Linked DNA regions of Homo sapiens: all the other regions are linked to region 3. The links are contacts of gene promoters, found by promoter capture Hi-C in human tissues and cell types (Jung and others, 2019). All regions are on one chromosome and are shown on one strand. The core of a region is centred on a gene start or on the middle of the fragment in contact, and the rest is flanking DNA. Distances in the headings are between cores, read along the strand shown. Region 1 overlaps PPM1F (protein phosphatase, Mg2+/Mn2+ dependent 1F). Region 2 overlaps PPM1F (protein phosphatase, Mg2+/Mn2+ dependent 1F). Region 3 holds the start of PPIL2 (peptidylprolyl isomerase like 2).

Region 1 (3,524 bases), core at 576-3,075, 260 kb after region 3:
CCCCTGGCCTGCAGGAATTGCAACTGCCTGAGATGCGGCTCCATTCCATTCATCTCTCTGCCTCATCCTGCCAGGTCCTTGCCCTCCTCCTGCTCCCCCATTAGACTTAGAGGCAGGAAGTGGGTCCTGTGTTATCTCACTGCCTCAACAAAGTATCTTGTGCAGAGTGGGCACTCAGTGTTTGGAGGCTGAACTGAGTGCAGAGGCAGGAGACTGTTCAGACAGCCGCAGAACAAGGCAGAGCACCACGCACTCCCCCCACGTACTCCTGGAAGCTGCTCTGGGCCGCTGCTGGACCCCCGTTGAAGCTCGCCAAGTTGAGGCCAGTTTCTTGCTCTTGTAACCGACATGATGCTTGTTTTTGTGGGAGAACCTTGGCCTGGATCTGTGATTAATTCTCTAGGGTGGAAGGCTGTGATCAGGATCACAGCAGGAGGGGCCAAGCCTACAGAGCATGGCGGCAGGAAAGGGGAGGTGGGGGGCACTGGATCTGAACTCCTTGGCCCATGCGGGCTGCAGCCAAGAACACAGACACCTGTGTGTGCTTCTCTTGTGCAAGCTCTGATCTCTGTGCTCCACATGCACTGGGACACTCAATCCTTACCCCAAACCTCCAGGGACCCCTGTGTGATGGACTTGGAAGCGGTGGAGCCGGGACCAGGCAAGGCCATCTGTCCATGCTCTGCCACGACGCCATACTGCAGGACTCAGGCAGTGTTTGAACAGAGCCCCCACTGGGCTTTAATGGGGTGCTGAATGCTGAGCCTGTAGGTGTGCAGGCAGCAGGTGGGAGTGGGCCCAGCACGAATCCTGACTTGGCCACATTTCATCTGACTGCATATCCTGGGGAGGAGAGCCCACTAGGGAGCAGGTGCCAAATTCCCCCACGGTGGTGGAGGCAGGGGAGTGGCAGAGACTATCTGTGACTTTGGCGGTGTGCTCTGGGCAAGTGACTGAGCCTCAGTTTTCTCCTCTGTACAATGGGGAGAGGACGTACAGGGGGCCCATACCAGACCGTGAGCCGCAGTGAAAGGCCAAGGAATGTAGCTGCCCCTGACTGTTACAATCATCAAGTCCTGGTGTCTCTATGTGCTTTCCAAACCAGAAGCCACAAAAAGACTACTCAACTACAGAAAAACACAAAGCCTCCATGTGGCAAAAGCCCATAAACAAAAATAAAAGATGCATGGAAAAACATTTGCAAATCATCACAGACAAGGAACCAACCTCCTTCACATATACAAGGAACCTATAAACTGATAAGAAAAACAGGCAAAGGAAAAAAACAGTGTTTGCAGGAAAGGCTGTGTAAATGATCTTCAGCTTTTGAAAACACGCTCAAACTCACTCTGTAACAGAAAAGCAAACTTAACAATTGCCCCAAGACAGGCTTCTTACCTGACAGGAAGAATCCTGCAGCCTGGTGAGACTGTGGGGAAATGGACCTTCTTGGGAATGTAGTGCCAGCCCAGGCTGGCATGGCCTGAGGTGGGAAGCTTGGCAAATCTACCCAGACTGTACGTGCATCAGTTCCAACCTAGCCATCCCACTTCTGGGGATGTGTCCTACAGATATAGGTACACTTGACTCTGAGCAATTAATGCTGCACAAAGTAGGTAGAGATGCATTGTTTTTAGCACCGAAAGACTGAAAAGATCTTCATGCTCACCCACAAGGGACTGCATGATGAATGCAATGTCCGCAGCCCCAAGAAAGGATGGGTGCTCCTATGTGCTGACGTAGAATTATCCACCATGTGCATGGTTAATCAAACATAGCTGGTGGAGAACAGCACGTGGGAAAAGTGGGGTTTGAGGGATAAACAGTCATTCCATGATATCTGAATGCTCGCAATCCAACCTCAGGAGACACATGGATGAGACAGTCTTCTGAGAAGAGGTCTGAGTGGGACTGTCATCCTCATGTCCAGGTGATGACCTGAGTGCCAGGGTCCCAGGCAGCCTCTAGTCAGTACAGCCCCAAGCCAGGTTCCCTCCAGCCTCGGGGCAGCATCACCTCCCTGAGGCCTTCCTCACCCACAGCCTGTGGCCTCCTTGTCCGTGTGTATGATGGGCTCTGGTCTGCACTGGGCTGCACTGACTGCACTGGGATGCCTGTCAGTGCAGAGGGCTCTGCTCTCCCCCGGAGCTCTGGGCTCCATATAGCTGTGACCCACAGAGCTCTCAGGAAGGGCTCACGTGGGACCCCCGGCCACTCAAATCAGGCAGGGAGCCCTCCCTCTTGAAAGGTGCCAGGATTACTACTACCTGAAGTTCCCAGGCTGGGTGGGGTTCCCCTATGGGCCCAGCATGATGGAGGCCAGGAATATCCTGGGCCTGGGCGCAGGGATCCCCTTACCTGCCGTTCTGGTCTGTGTGGCTCCATCAGCTTCACCACCTGTCCCTGCTGTACCAAAATGACCTGGGAATCCCCGAGCCAGGCGACGTGCAGGGTCGCTCCTGCAATGAGCGCACACACACCTGTGGTGCCGCTCTGCAGCCGCTGCAGGGAGAGAGGGCCCATGAGAGTTGAGAGGAGGTAGGGAAGGGCAGAGGATGACACGGGGCAGGATGAAGCTTCCGGGGGTGATGAATACTTCCGTTACTGTGGTGAGGAATCCACAGGTGTATATGTGTATAAGCCAAAACTTGCCAAATTGTGGACTTCAAATATGCACCACTTACTACCTGTCAATTGTATCTCAATAAAGATGTTTATTTATTTATTTATTTATTTATTTAGAGACAGAGTCTTGCTCTGTCATTCAGGCTGGGCTGCAGTGGCACAATCTCGGCTCAGTGCAACCTCCGCCTCCCGGGTTCAAGTGATTCTCCTGCCTCAGCCTCCCAAGTAGCTAAGATTACAGGCGTACAGCACCACGCCTGGCTAATTTTTTGTGTTTTTAGTAGAGACGGGGTTTTGCCATGTTTCTTTCCCAGGCTGGTCTTGAACTCCTGAGCTCAGGCAATCTGCCTGCCTTGGCCTCCCAAAGTGCTAGGATTACAGGCGTGAGTCACTGCGCCTGGCTATTTATTTATTTAGAGGCAAAATCTTGCTCTGTCACCCAGGCTGGAGTGCAGTGGCACAGTCTCAGCTCACTGCAACTTCCATCTCCTGGGCTCAAGTGATTCTCATGCCTCAGCCTCCCAAGTAGCTGGGACTATAGGCGCGTGCCACCATACCTGGCTAATTTTTTTTTTTAATTTTTAGTAGAGGCAGGGTTTCACCATGTTGGCCAGGCTGGTCTCAAACTCCTGACCTCAAGTGATCCACCCACCTCAGCCTCCCAAAGTGCTGGGATTACAGGCATGAGCCACCGCGCCTGGCCAATTTTTGTATTTTTAGTAGAGACGAGGTTTCACCATGTTGGCCAGGCTGGTCTCGAATTCCTAACCTGAAGTGATCCGCCGGCCTCTGCCTCCCAAAGTGCCGGGATTACAGGCGTGAGCCACTGTGCCCAGCCTCAATAAAGCAGTTACGCCTGCTTCAGAGAATCCCTTTTCTACTCTGAGGCTGCCTTGAGC
Region 2 (3,395 bases), core at 8-2,507, 280 kb after region 3:
CCTGCTGCCCAGAAAGCCCATGGCCAGCTCAGCCAGCTCGCCCTCCACCTCCTCCTGGCTGAGCACCGTCCCTGGGGCCTTCCATGGCAGAGGGTCCTCTGGGTTCAGCAGGGCTGGGAAGTCTTGCAGGAGCGTGTCCAGGAAGCCTGGGGTCTCCTCAGCTCCACTGGCCATTGGGCTGCTCTTCTGTGGGGCTCCAGAGGACATGCCCAAAGCATCCCGGGGGCCTGCAGCTAGGCCAGGGCAAGAGGGTCTCCAGGCTTCACCCTGGGGAGAAATGTCAGAGTCAGCAGAATCAGGGGGCCATGGCACCAGCAATGCAGGTGCCCACCTGCAAGCACCATGTGGCAGGTGCATGGCCTCATGGTTCAGGGCCACTAGAGGGTGGAGGGACAACCCTGGCCACTGTTTTGACATGAGTCCAGGTGGGGACTTGTGGGCATCCAGAGATCCGGTCTCAGGAGATGGTGCCAGGAGCAGCAGCTGGGTGGACATTGTCAAGAAGTGACAGAGGAGGAAGACTGTTCCTGGCAGAGGGTGGCCAGCGTGGCCAGAGACGAGCAGGACAGGGATGCCGAGGCCAGGCACTGAGGTAGGTGAGGGGGTTCAACCTGATCACGGGTCCCGAGCAGCCAGGAGGGCTCTGAGGTGAGGGAGTGAAGCCACCAGGTCTGTGAGCCTGGACGTGGTGACCAGATGGCAGGAGGGACACCTGTTGGGGCTCTAGTGGTGTTCAGGGGAGGAAAGAGAAGGGCCAAGATGCGGGAGGCCGGCCCAGGGCTGTTTTGGAGATAGGCCAGAGTGGGAGCAGGAAGGGATCCCCAGAGGCTGCTGGGGCCACCCAAGGGGTGGCCAGGAGAGAAGCAGAGGTTTAATCTGGGACAGACAGGAGGTGCTGTGGGACACCATCGAGCCTATTCAATGCTCTCTAATAGGAGGAGGGAATTGTGAGCCTAGAATGGCTCAGGCCTGCTAAGCCCTGGCTGGAAGAGGGGCACTGTGGACAGTTCCAGGCGCTGACCCCACTGTGCGGCATGTGGGCTCTTCCTCCCTAAGTCCTTAGGGATGACCAGAGCTGACCAGCCCTGGGAGTTGCCCCTAACACCCCAGGAGCCAGGACAAGCCCCCATTTCACAGATGAGAATCCCAAGGTTTGGAGAGGGTTAGTCCCTCGCCTGAGGTGTCAGAAGGAAGACAGGGCCAAAGAGGGATCGCAAAGCCTGTGCCTTCACTCCCTCACCGGCTTCTCTCTCACTGGAAAGAGGCACATGGTGCCTCACAGCCTCCTCCCAGGGTGGCTCTGGCTCCTCTTCTCTCCTAACTCCGAATCTCCATAGTCGCCTCCCCAGCCTGCCTGCCTTGCCTATACCCAAACAGCTCTCCAGCGCCCCCCCTTCCATGTTCTTTGCGTCGCCCCGGGGATTCACCTCCAGGCCCCACACCTGGGCCTCCCTGCCAGCACCCACTCAGCATGGACCCTTCTCTCTCCTGCCCCCTTCCTCTCGGGTGCCTGACCCCTCCAAACCCTCCCCACAGCGGGGACTCCACCTTGGGCTTTGTCTAACACTCAGGCTGGGAAACTTTATTCAGCGAGTCCTACGCAGTAGTGGATGAGATTGGATCCAGAAAAAAATAAAAAAGAAATCCTACACAGTTACTAAGCCAGGGAGAAAAACTGCATTCTTTTATGGTGACAAACGGACATGAGACTCTGAGGAACACCCCGAGTTCTAGGGTGGAGAATTTGGGGAACAGTTTCACAGCCCATCACCTTCATGAGGACTTCCAGGTTCTGAAAACTGAACGAAGAAGGCAAGGAGAATCTTCTAGAATCATCAGTCTTAGAATAGCCACAGACTCTGCCTACAAACTTTGCTAAAAGGGCGGCTGTGGCAGGGGCCTGAGGTGCAGGATGAAGAGAGTGGGAAGTAAGAGATGCAGGGAGCTCACAGCCCACAAGAGGGCTGTCCTTATCAGGAATTGCTAACTTGGAACAAGCCTTCTGGAAGCCTAAAGATAAAAAACACAAAAGAGAATGGGGTGGGCAGAGGGAAAGGTCCCAGCACCAAGTTAAATGTCTGATCAGTGAGGGATTTGGAATGCAAGGGGTGAAGGGTGGTAAATTAACAAAACACAAAACCCTTCTCTTCTTTTAGAGGCAGAATTGAAAGGTAATTTATTTAAAGTGGACACATACAAATAACGTAGGAATAGGGGTGCTTGCTACTGAAGGTTCTGGGGATAGACTAAATTTATTGCTATGGTTCACATTTACTCACAAGTAGGAGTAAATTTAATGCAACCCAGGTTACAGAAGGCAAGCAGGTAAAAGGATAAAGAACATAAAACAACTGGCAAGGCGCTGTGGCTCAGGTCTATATCTCAGCGCTTGGGGAGGGTGAGGCAGGAGGAGTGCTTGAGGCCAGGAGTTCAAGACCAGCCTGGGCAGTGAGATCGCCACCCCCCCCCCACCCCCCATCTCTACCAAAAAAGAAAAAAAAAGAACATAAAGCAAAAAAGGAAAAATCACTTTGAGAGCAGGAGGGACACTGACATTCAAACGACAAAGGGAAGACTGTGAGCTGGAGAAATGAGCAGAGGCTGGGAGCCCTAGTAGGTCAATGAGGAGGCGGCACGTCCTGCCAGCCATGCCCCAGCAGAGCTGTAAGGCATTCGAAGATGGCGTGAATTTCCCAGCAAGCTTGGCTGCCCTCAAGCAGTGCAAGCGGCCAAGGGCCCCTCTTCTGCCTGGGACTGCCCTGGCCCCTGGAGCTTCTGGGAGAATGTGAACGATGCAGAGCTGCCCCCAGCAACTGCCAGTGCCTGGGGCCTCCTCCCACTCCCTTGCAATTCCAAGTGATCTGGAGGCTCTACTGTCTCACCACAAAATGTGCTCATGTGAATTTATGATTAGGATCCAAGTGAGAGGACAGCATGCTCCCCGCTAGAGCACACAGAGGGCCCCCCTGGAGAAACCCCTGCCCACAGTGTAAAGCCCCACTGTCAAGGGCAGAATTCAAGACCCTTCACTTCCACCCCATTTGCTGGTGACGTCTGCTGGACCTTTTGGGATGCAGGTGCCTCCTTCTTGCCTCCTGACCTTGGGGTACTCTTTCCTGTGCCGTGAGCCCCTCCCCACAATCGGCCTGTTCCCTCAGGGAGGGTGGCTCCTCCTGTCTGCACTACAGACCCTGATTCACTGTGGCCACCTGCCTGCTCTCTCTGTGCCTTGTGCCCACTATCTGCACATGCCTCAATGGTGTCTGTGCCATGTGTACTAAGTAAGGTCTGGGGGGTGTGATGATGTGTGTGTGTGAAGCTCTGTCTGCATCTGTAGAGGGGACAGGCTGGCTTACTCTCAGGGCCTGTGCCAACTGCCTGCTCTTGTTACAAAG
Region 3 (3,346 bases), core at 681-3,180:
CTCTCTGGGGAGGTGACACTTATGTTAAAACCTAGAGAATAAGAAGCCAGCCATGAAATAAGGCAAAGATAGCTGGCTTTCGGTGACTGGGTGGATGGTGGTACTGCTCAGCAGAGTGGGGACTGGGAGAAGAGGGAGGATTGAAAATTCTGCTTTATGGCCGGGTGCGGTGACTCATGCATGTAATCCCAGGACTTTGGGAGGGCTGAGGCGGGAGGATCACCTGAGGTCGGGAGTTCGAGACCAGCCTGACCAACATGGAGAAACCCCTTCTCTACTAAAAATACAAAATTAGCCAGGCGTGGTGGCGCATGCCTGTAATAATCCCAGCTACCTGGGAGACTGAGGCAGGAGAATCGCTTGAACCTGGGAGGCGGAGGTTGCAGTGAGCCAAGATCACACCATTGCACTCCAGCCTGGGCAACAAGAGCAAAACTCCATGTCAAAAAAAAAAAGAAAAAAAAAAAGAAAATTCTACTTTGACCAGACATGTTAATTTAATTTTTTTAGGCAGAGTCACTCTGTCACCCAGGCTGGGATGCAGTGGCCTAATCTTGGCTCACGGCAACCTCTGCCTCCCCAGTTCAAGCTACTGTCTCGGCCTCCCAAGTAGCTGGAATTACAGGTGTGTGCCACCACACCAGGCTAATTTTTTGTATTTTTAGTAGAGATGGGGTTTTGCCATGTTGGCCAGGTTAGTCTTGAACTCCTGACCTCAAGTGATCCGCCTGCCTCAGCCTCTCAAAGTGCTGGGATTGGCCGGGCGTGGTGGCTCACGCCTGTAATCCCGGAACTTTGGAAGGCCAAGGCAGGCGAATCAGGAGGTCAGGAGATCGAGACCATCCTGGCTAACATGGTGAAACCCCGTCTCTACTAAACACACACACACACACACACACACACACACACACAAAGTGCTGGGATTACAGGCGTGAGCCACCACGCCCATCCAGACATGTTACATTTCAGATCAGTGGTTACCCAAGTGGAGATCAGGAACCTGGAGTGCTGGTGACTTAGTACTGGGAGTCATGGGATACAAATGGCATTTAAAATTAGGAGCCTAGGCAAGATTACCCTGGGCCTGAGTGTAGCTAGGGGCCCAAGGTACTGATCTGACCCAAGGGAAGGGTCTGGCAGAAGAGACGGAAGGGATCAGGTAGGGCTTTGGACCTCTAGGCTTGATGGCCACCTGCTGCTGGGCCTCCGAGGGGCCTGGAGGCGGTGGGGACCGAATATGCAGAGAGAATGAGAAGTGAGCGAGTAGAACGAGAGTGGTACATGGCTTTGAAGGCATCTGCCACGGAGGCGGGAAGGGATGGGGTGGAGGCTCATGAGACTTGAAGCTCTAGGAGGACGTTGAAAAAGACCTGAGCGCTGGCCGGGCGCGAAGCCTCAGGCCTGTAATCCCAGCACTTTGGGAGGCCAAGGCGGGAGGACTGCTTGAGCTCAAGAGCTCCAGACCAGCCTGGGCAACATTGTAAGAGCCTGTCTCTACAAAAAATTAACAAATTAGCCGGGTGTGGTGGTGCGTGCCCGTAGCTACTCGGGAGGCTGAGGTGGGAGAATCGCTTGAGCCTGGGAGGTCGAGGCAGTAGTGAGCTGTGATTGTGCCACTGCACTCCAACCTGGGCGACAGAGCGAGACCCTGTCTCGAAAATAAATAAATAAGACCTGAGAACCCAGTATGGGAATGGCCCTGAGCCGTGGCTAGGGGGGTAGACAAGGCGGTCCAGACAGACCCCTCAAGAAGATGGGGCTTCGAGGCTGAGGGAGCTCGGCCCCGAAAAGACGCCTGCGGGAGATGGCACACCTAGCTAGGACCCCATACTGGGCAGGCGATCCTTCCGAGCATGAGCACCTGGCGCTAGCGAACCACAATTCCCAGCACGCCAGGCGCCCGTTTCCGGGGCGCGCCGCGGAACCCGGAAGTGGTCACGGAACTCGGCTGCGGCTCCATGGTCTGAGTTGTCAGCCGTTGTTTTTTCGTGCTCGCTAGTCGCCGCCGCCGCTCCGCCATGGGGAAGCGACAGCACCAAAAGGACAAAATGTAAGTTGAGCCGCAGTCGGGAGCGGCGCTCCACTCTGCCTCAGTGAACCGCCTGTCCCGCACTGCGCGCCGCTCGCCTTCCCTCTCAGCTACTCCCCAGAGCACAGCCCAAAGGTCACTTCCTCCCGGAAGCTGCCGCCCTGTCTCCAGTCAGGGTAATGACCCTCGGGCCGCCGCGCTCTCCCGGGGCCGCGGCTCCGATGACGTCAGCTGCGGGCTCGAGCGCAGCCCGGTTTTCCTTACTCTGGTTCTGCCCGGACCGTCCCCCGTCTGTTCGCGAGTTTCGCCCTTGAATGAGTAGTCTCTACCTCTTCCGTACTTCACGTCTCGCTGTGTTCTGGTTCATGCCTATCAGCCTGCAAACGTGCTGCAGAGCCTTCTAATTTAAAGCAAACCAGGTCGGGCGCAGTGGCTCACCTGTAATCACAGCACTTTGGGAGGCCGAGGCGGGCGGATCACCTGAGGTCAGGAGTTCAAGACCAGCCTGGCTAATACGGTGAAACCCCGTCTCTACTAAAAATACAAAAATTAGCGGGGCGTGGTGACGGGCGCCTGTAATCCTAGCTATTTGGGAGGCTGAGGCAGGGGAATCGCTTGAACCCGGGAGGCGGAGGTTGCGGTGAGCCGAGATCGTGTCACTGCACTCCAGCCTGGGCGACAGAGCGAGACGCTGTCTCAAAAATAATAAATAAAATTTAAAAATCCACCCGTGCCCCGTGCCCCACGTCCCACGTTCCCCTCCCGCTGCCGCCGTGTTGTTTCTCTTAAGAACAAGTGAGAGACTAGTGGCTTCATGCTGTTTTCTGAGTCTCTTGAAACCACTCAAGTCAGAATTTCGACCCCAGAACTGTTGGGCTTCTCAACAGTATGTCACACCGTTGACCACTCCCTCTTTCTGAAGCCCTCCTTTGGTATCTGGGATTTCACCTGCTCTTTGTTTTCTCTCGACTTCAGCGGCCTCTCTTTTCAGGTTCCCAGCGACTTCTTGTTGCTAAATATAGTATTCAATCCTCAGTCCTCATTTTTTTTTTTTTTTTTTTTTGAGACGCAGTTTCGCTCTTGTTGCCCAAGCTAGAGTGCAATGGTGAGATCTTGGCTCACCGCAACCTCCGCTTCCCGGCTTCAAGAGATTTTCCTGCCTCAGCCTCCCGAGTAGCTGGGATTACAGGCATACGCCACCATGCCCAGCTAATTTTGTATTTTTAGTAGAGAAGGGGTTTCTCCATGTTGGTCAGGCTGGTCTCGAACTCCTGACCTCAGGTGATCCACCTGCCTCGGCCTCCCAAAGTCCTGGGA

The links. The method cuts DNA at HindIII sites, captures the fragments that hold promoters and counts their contacts. A contact is called where the count stands out against the background at its distance.
Region 1: a contact is called between a fragment that was not itself captured here and the fragment with the promoter of PPIL2 in region 3, in 2 of the 25 tissues and cell types used here (dorsolateral prefrontal cortex and lymphoblastoid cells).
Region 2: a fragment that was not itself captured here is called in contact with the fragment with the promoter of PPIL2 in region 3 in 1 of the 25 tissues and cell types used here (lymphoblastoid cells).

What each region holds. Positions count from the first base shown.
Region 1 is chr22:21,928,790-21,932,313 of GRCh38, forward strand. It overlaps PPM1F (protein phosphatase, Mg2+/Mn2+ dependent 1F), which reads right to left. Exons shown (of 8, transcript NM_014634.4): 6 at 2,359-2,502. Among named protein-coding and RNA genes, the nearest start is that of PPM1F-AS1, 7.7 kb to the right of the region's middle. The HindIII fragment of the contact is 5,175 bases long and covers 1-3,524 here.
Region 2 is chr22:21,945,842-21,949,236 of GRCh38, forward strand. It overlaps PPM1F (protein phosphatase, Mg2+/Mn2+ dependent 1F), which reads right to left. Exons shown (of 8, transcript NM_014634.4): 2 at 2-267. The coding sequence starts at 207. Among named protein-coding and RNA genes, the nearest start is that of PPM1F, 5.3 kb to the right of the region's middle. The HindIII fragment of the contact is 4,794 bases long and covers 1-3,395 here.
Region 3 is chr22:21,664,082-21,667,427 of GRCh38, forward strand. It overlaps PPIL2 (peptidylprolyl isomerase like 2), which reads left to right and starts at 1,931. Exons shown (of 20, transcript NM_014337.4): 1 at 1,931-2,050. The coding sequence starts at 2,019. RefSeq lists enhancers at 1,863-2,773, 2,008-2,247, 2,318-2,367. The HindIII fragment of the contact is 22,549 bases long and covers 1-3,346 here.